Regions from separate parts of the Homo sapiens genome. Here region 1 is linked to region 2. Evidence: promoter capture Hi-C in human tissues and cell types (Jung and others, 2019). All regions are on one chromosome and are shown on one strand. Each heading gives the region's core, a stretch centred on a gene start or on the middle of the fragment in contact. The rest is flanking DNA. Distances are from core to core; before and after follow the strand shown. Region 1 overlaps LAMA2 (laminin subunit alpha 2). Region 2 holds the start of LAMA2 (laminin subunit alpha 2).

Region 1 (3,676 bases), core at 731-3,230, 380 kb after region 2:
GTAGAAGTGTGTCAGTGCCCACCAGGGTATACTGGCTCCTCTTGTGAAGTAAGCTTGCAAGAATGTATCCTTAGTGCTTTCAAAGTTCCCTCAACATTGCTTTCAATAACCTATTCTAATAAGAGCTGTTTTTTTTCTATCAATAATTACACAAATAATGTGTATCACTTAAAAACAAAACTTGAATATCTACCAAAAGCTGTGGCTTTCAATTAGAGTATTAACCACATAATTTCATTTTGTAACTCTTTCTCTCTGAGATATTTTGCCTATAACTGAAAATCTGATGTTTCTGTCTTTGCTACATATTTGATCTATTGTATGCTGGATGGTAGCAGAATAGCACTTCAAAATATTTTCTCTTCATTTTCATCATAATGTTATCCAAAATTTAGCACTCTATTTTTTTTTTACTTTTCTCTCATTTTTTAATTCTGTATCACACTTTTCCTCTACTTCATTTCTAAGAATACAACCAAATCACAATCATCTGAAGCATATAATCTTCAGAATGTCAAGAATATAATATATGGAAAAAATACCTTGATATAGAAAACTGCCTACAGGTCTTTGATTTGTTTAGCACCTAATGTTTGAGATATTTATTGTTGTCTCAATATCCTAGATTTATAATAAGATTAATGGTTCTTACTTAATACCGCAGTGTGTCATCCTAAGGTAACAATTTTTATTTGCTTCTGTGTATTTTCTTTTACACAGAAAACTGGTGTGAAACTGGTTTTACTTGAAACCTGGTCAAAAAATGTGAACACTATTTCCTTGACAGAGCGCATGGCTAGCAGATAAATAGGAGCTTAGTTTCTTTAAAATGGTGCCTTTAAGGAATCATTTGAGTGTACTGAGATGTTCCACTTCAGAACACTACCTCATTATGCCATTTATAGAAATACTCTAGGCATTGCTTTGTCAGTTCTCTCGTACTTTTAAAATAATGCATACATCTAGAGATACGCATTATAGTCATATTCATGACAGCTGTGTTTCCTTTAACTGAGCTCAGATTCACCTTTCTAGAAATAAAACTAGATATAACTTATAGAAGTACTTGCTTTTCCAAAATTCATGTAGATGAGAGAAAAATAATTATGGATATCAATTAGCTATGTCAACCCAAATTTGATTTTACATATAAAATACACAATGTATTTGATGAAACAAGAGCCTTTTGCTCTTGATTCCAAACTATTTGAACTTTTAAGATCCTCTCTCAATTGGCATAATAAATAACTTAATTCTACTCTTGTTTTAAGGCTTGTTTCCACATACTTTGTTCTCATCCTTTGCATTATCTTTTATACAAATTCTAAGTGCCCACTGAATATAAAATTACTTGAATATTACAATTGCTTAATTGGCTATGCTTTTAGTCTCTTCCTTCTCTCCTTCAAAAATATTTTCAATACATTCTAGATATGTTTGATAAATTCTGTAAATTTACCTGTATAAATTATTAATAAGTACATACAACATAATCCCTGTCCTATCTGTTTAGGGAGACAATAAATATCTATGAAAAATGGGATCTCAGCACTGTATAATTAAGGGAGAGGTATGTGCTACAGAACATACATGCAATAATCATTCAAAGGGATGAGCTACTGCAGTGGAGAGAGATGCAAAGTGTCCTGGAGTGGAGAAATCTTAAATTGGATGCTAAATAATGGTAACAGATAGATAGAAGCATTTGAGTGTGAAAAAAAAAGGAGAGATAATAAAAGCTTCCTGTATCTGTCACACAATAATTGTTTGATAAATAAAATTACTTTGTAATCCATAAAAGAACTTAATTGAATCAAGAGACAATGAATTTTGGAACTTTGGATTTTCTCTCTGACTTCTTCATTTCTTCTACTCTCTAAAATTCATTTTTTCCTTATCAAAACTTTCTGTCCCTAAATTCACTATTATTCAGTCCTATCCTTTCATTATTTCATTTGCTTTTCAATTAAGTGTAGTTTGTAAGGCCAGTCATTCTAGCCTTGTTATCACTAATATCCTGGGATCCCTTAAAAGCTGAGTAAACGCCAAAGACCATTAATGTCTTAATTCCAGCTTGCTGAGAACCTCTGGCCAAAAAAGGATCAAATGACTCCATTGTAGACATTCTCTTTTACTTCATTTGGGGCCATAGTGTTGATTCAGGATCTTTTTTCTCATTTCTACTTGACTTCTTGTGAAGTGTTCTGCAGTTAAATCTTTCAAAAATTTTCTTACTTTCATAGTGCTGTCATCATAGATTTCACTTGACAGATGAGACAGGGGATATACTATTAAAAAGAGTGTTATGCAATCTCAGTTTCTTCTTCCATGAAATGAAAATAATATTAACCACCTCATAGAATTGTTTGTTTGTTCGTACTTTCATTTAGCTGACTAGTATTTGATGAGCGTGTATTTTGAGACAAACAAGACCCTACACAGGGAAAATAGTGCCATTAACAATACAGATATTGTCCCTGTCCCCAAGGACGTTGCACTGAGTGGTGGCATTAACGATATGCCAGAAAGCAAATAGAAATAAACGTGACAAATTCTATGAAGGAAATAAACAGGGTGAAATAAACAGGGTTCTATGATAAAGTTACTGCAAGTGGTTGTATGAAGGTTAGAAAGTCTACTTTGTAAAAGTTTGTCAGGAAAGGCTTCCTGAGGTGGTGACAGCTAAATCGAGTGTTGAAGAATGAGAGGGACAACGATGTAAAACCAGCTGCTAAGGAAGCAGCATAGATCGTGGAGTCTGTAAGGACTGGAAAGAAGGAGCGTGGCTGGAGCCTTGTAAGCAAGGGGAAAAGTGGGACAAGAAGTGATTGGAAAAGCAAGGCCATGAGGAGATTTGCACATATGATAAGAAATGAGCATTTTATTCTCATGGCATGGAACATCATTACAAGCCTTTCAGCAGAGTAGTGGAGTAGTGTAATCTGATTTACATTTTTGGGTTTTGGGGTGTTTTTTGTTGTTTGAGACAGGGTCTTGCTCTGTCACCTAGGCTGGAGTGCAGTGATGCTGTCATAGCTTGCTGCAGCCTCAAACTCCTGAGCTCAAGTGATCCTCCTGCCTCAGCCTCCTGAGTAGCTGGGACTACAGGTGTATACCACCATGCCCAGCTATTTTTTTTTGTTTGTTTTAATAGAGACAAGATCTCAATATGTTGCACAGGCTGATCTCGAACTCCTGAGCTCAAGCAATCCTCCCACCTCAGCCTCCCAAAGTTCTGGGGTTACAGGCATGGGCCAACGCACCCAGCCTGAGTTACATTTTTTTGAAGAAGGCATTATGGCTACAGTAGGAAGAATGTGTCTTAGGAGGGCATGAATAATAGGAAGGAGAAGGGTTAATATGTAGTTGCAGTGGAACACAGCAATGACAGTAGTTGCTGTTAGGATCATGGCAGGGAATATAAAAAGAGTTAGCATATTCTATATATATTTTGATAGTAGAACAAATAGGACTTACTGATTCGAGACTGTATGTCAGGGGAGAGATTAAAGAAATAAAGAGTTTAAGAATGAGTCATAGATGACCAGTTTGAATGATTGATCAGTTGGTTGTGGTGTCATTTACTGAGCTGAGGAATAGTTGGTGTGTGTGGGGGGGTGGGGGCATGGAATCCATAGTCCAGTTTAGAAATTTTCGATTTGAAAACGCTGTGAAG
Region 2 (4,018 bases), core at 170-2,669:
TTCTCTTCAAAGCAATACTCTCTTAATTTTACTGAAAGAAAATTCAACTTTAATATAATATTTAGATAAATCAATACATCTTAACTATAAAAAAGAAAACTATCTATATAAGACAATATGTATTTCAACATATAAATGCTTGGGTAAAACTTCCTTAGGAGGCAAAATAAAATAAAAGTTTGCACCTATTCTTAGATGACCCCAGTGTAATCGATGGGATGTTGATATTGTGCTGGTGACTCAAGTACCATGGGCAAGGTTGTTATCAGTGATGTGCTTCTCTGAAAGTACATCTTTACACCCATTGACAAATGGGTGTAAAATCCAAAAACACAAAGTAAATTATCTTCTCAATGTATATAGTAGATGCATCCTAGAAAAAAACAAACAAACAAACAAAAAACACACACAAAAATTTGATGTGGAAACAAACTTAAATTAGGTTTCAAATATAAGGCAAGGTTTTGTTGTTTTGTTTGTTTGTTTACTCACTACATAAATGACCAGTGGCCCATTCAGAAGTCTAAGGACAAAATATGTTGTAGGACTGTCCTGACCACTGAGGGACAGCTCACACCCTGACCCAACAGTACACTAATGCCTGCAGTACCCACCGTTCCCGGAGTAAACCAAAAGACATCCTGCGACTCACAAAATCCATTATGGAGTTGTTTTAAACCTTATGAGAACCACTGACCTAGGCCATAAAAAACAAATGAAAAAACAACAAAAACTAGGAATGGCAGTAGTTCTGTTGAGTTAAAGAGGAGAAAGAGGAGAAACCAGGACTGGAAGAGATGAAATTGTGAGTCTGGAAGGAAACTATTGCAAAGGCCTTTATTACCTTTAAGTAAATGTCTCCTAACTGAACTGAAAGCCTTCATTCTAACCATTAGTTTGGTCAGGAACATTTCAGGGACGCCAGGGTGGCTGTTTTATTTTGCACTTCCTTTACTGCCCTCCCAGCAGCCTACCTAGCAGTAAGTTCCCCAGCCTGCAGTGTCCCCAGAGGGCACCTTCCCTCGGCTAGTAACTTCTCAGACACTCTGGCCTTGGGGATGTCTTGGATCTTCTAGGTACACAGTGGCTGCACACAGTTTTGCCAGGCCTTTCTCAAGAGGTAAAAGTTCCTAGCTGTTTGCATTTCCCAGAAATAATGTTTTCCATGTGTAGGGATTTTACAGATTTCAAAGTGCTTTCATGTCAATTACTTTCTTTAATTTAAAAGAAGTTCAGATACCAGGTCAAGCTAGGAATGATCCGGTCTCAGAGGGAAGGAGCGCTCTAGGAAAGGAGGATCCTTTAATAGAGGGCCGTCCTGGGGCCGCGTGCCCATGGAAGGCGAGAGTGGAGGAGTGTCCTCTTTCTCCCCCACCCTCAGGCGGCGGCCCGGCCAAAGCCAGAGGGGGCTGTCTCCTCCTCTTCCCCAGCAGCTGCTGCTCGCTCAGCTCACAAGCCAAGGCCAGGGGACAGGGCGGCAGCGACTCCTCTGGCTCCCGAGAAGTGGATCCGGTCGCGGCCACTACGATGCCGGGAGCCGCCGGGGTCCTCCTCCTTCTGCTGCTCTCCGGAGGCCTCGGGGGCGTACAGGCGCAGCGGCCGCAGCAGCAGCGGCAGTCACAGGCACATCAGCAAAGAGGTACAGTCGAGGCATGGGCTTGGGTTGCATCCTTTGCCGGGACCGAGATTCCTCACTTCTTCCACTCTTCCGAGAGTTGCTGTCTGTGGACTGCCGTCTTGCTTCGCCTTCAGAGAGTGCGCTCTGGGGCAAGAGGAACTTGAAGCAAGTTCAAGTTCAATGCCATGAGAGCGTAGTGTAGGGGGAATTACCTAAGTCCTGCAAAAGGAACGGGGAGTGCTTTTCATTGTTCTTTAGTTTCGAAGAGGTCTTGCTATCACGATACATCCCGTAAATTGATTTCTGAAATCTTTCCAAGAGGAAAACTTTTTCCAATTGGAAAAAAAAGAATTTCTTCAAATCAGAGCCCATCCTGCAGAGAAAGGCTTCCCAAGCTGTGTGGTTCATCCTGGGACTTTATGGAGGGTAGCTGATGCATCAAAAAAAAATTATATATATATATATACACACACACACACACACACACACACACACACACATATATATATATATAAAGTTTTACAGAACTTTGTTTTCAACTTTTAAAACAGGATTTCTAAAGAAGTTATGTGGTTTTTTTTCTTTCATGGCAATGGCGCCTCCAGCCTCACCTTTTTCAAACCCACATCTTATCTTCATATCCTATTTTATTGTAGTGAAATCGTGAAATTTCTCCTTTTGCTTAAATACAGAGGAGACTTCTATGTCATGTGTACTTTAAGGCCACAGTGACTAGATATACACTTTGGAGGACTTTGGAAGATGGCTGTATTTAATGTAACTTAAATAACTTATTCTCCTCAGAGCCTCTTAGTGTTTATGTATATATAGCTCTCATTTCTGAAACTTTGGGGAGTCTTTGAAGAGTTATTTTATTATCATGAATTTTACAGGAAGCACATGTGCAGCATTGTAAGACATACTTTGTAACACATTATTTCAGCAAACAATTCTTTAAGTTGGAAAACCTGTATCAAAGTAAAAAAAAAAGAAATATTTATTATTCGGTTTTAAATATGAAAATGTTTAACCTAAGAGTACAAAATCTGTAGGTTAGAAGCTTTTAAAAGTTTTAATGAGGCTGAATCTGCTTAAGTTTTGAAGTATACTTATCCTTCTTCCAGTTAACTTCTAGCCAAGTCAATAGTTCTGATATTTGTTCTTATAATCTAGCATTTTTAGCAGTACTATTTTTTAAGGAGTAAAGAGATATCCCAAGCTCTTTCTATAATAATAACTCCCTGATTAAAATTCTTGGAATAAAAATGACCTTGCATTCACTATATAACTTTTTTCCTTCTATTTTTGCTTTTGCTTCTCTGAGAGGTAAAATGGGGCCAATATGACTTAATTAATATAATTTACGAGAGTGATTTTAAGAGTATCTCTGGCCACTTATTTTTAAAAATTCTACTTTTAACTATTAAACTTTGCTCAATTACAAGGTGTGTTTAAACAAGACATAATACTTTAATAATGTTAGGCAGCTGGGAGAAATGAGGGGCCAGGGGCACCAATCCTTATGTCCACTTGGAATGGGGCAGAAACTCAAAGCATGCAGAGTAAGGATCAAGTAAATTGTTGCTAAGAATTATCCTGAACACACACAGGATTTCTCTTTTTTCCTCTCCCTTCTTATTTACTCTCTTTTCAAATAAGGTAATATTAACTCTGATTTCTATGACCCAGGCACAAGATGAAGTGAATTCAGGAGGAAGGGTTTATACTACCATTCTGTCAAGATACCACTTAAATGCTACATACAATAAGGAATTTTATTCAAAATAGCTACAACATACAATCTACTATAGGCTGCTATAATCTGCATTCTAGTATATATTATTGTCTTTGTCATAGACCATTTACAATATATCTGGAGGTTGGCTCAAGGATAAATGACTTAAACCTGTTAATGTTGAAAGTATGTAAAATTCATGAAACTTTAAAATTGGATAGTGATTTATGATTTAAAAATGCCTTATGTACACGATCTTTATTCACCTTCAGATATTATTATTCTCAAAGGACAAATTTAGAACTTAGGCTTCCAGTAGTTGTAATTTAAGTTTACATAATAATAACTTTATTTCAACAACTAAAACACTTCCGGTATTGTTTGTGCTGAATTCCCTTTTTTATGGTTCCAAGGTTTCTTTCCATTAATTGTTTAGGCCATGTTTTCTTTTTAGTGTTGTTCCATTGAAGCAAGCCCTCTGTGAAAATCACGGGATATGAGTTTGACTGGAGAAGGGTTTTCCTGGCTATGATCAACTTTTCTGTTTTCGATTATACTAGCACTGACCTTTCTAGGCAAGCGCTAATTGTGTAGAAGTTCTATTTCCCCTTATAATTCGATACCACTTTATTAAGAATTTTTGACATGAATCAACCATTTTTAGA

The links. Contacts are between HindIII fragments. The study calls those that stand out against the background at their distance.
Region 1: a fragment that was not itself captured here is called in contact with the fragment with the promoter of LAMA2 in region 2 in 1 of the 25 tissues and cell types used here (heart left ventricle).

The regions. Positions count from the first base shown.
Region 1 is chr6:129,260,775-129,264,450 of GRCh38, forward strand. It overlaps LAMA2 (laminin subunit alpha 2), which reads left to right. Exons shown (of 65, transcript NM_000426.4): 15 at 1-48. Among named protein-coding and RNA genes, the nearest start is that of LAMA2, 380 kb to the left of the region's middle. The HindIII fragment of the contact is 4,785 bases long and covers 1-3,676 here.
Region 2 is chr6:128,881,719-128,885,736 of GRCh38, forward strand. LAMA2 (laminin subunit alpha 2) reads left to right here and starts at 1,420. Exons shown (of 65, transcript NM_000426.4): 1 at 1,420-1,639. The coding sequence starts at 1,528. The HindIII fragment of the contact is 5,954 bases long and covers 1-3,556 here.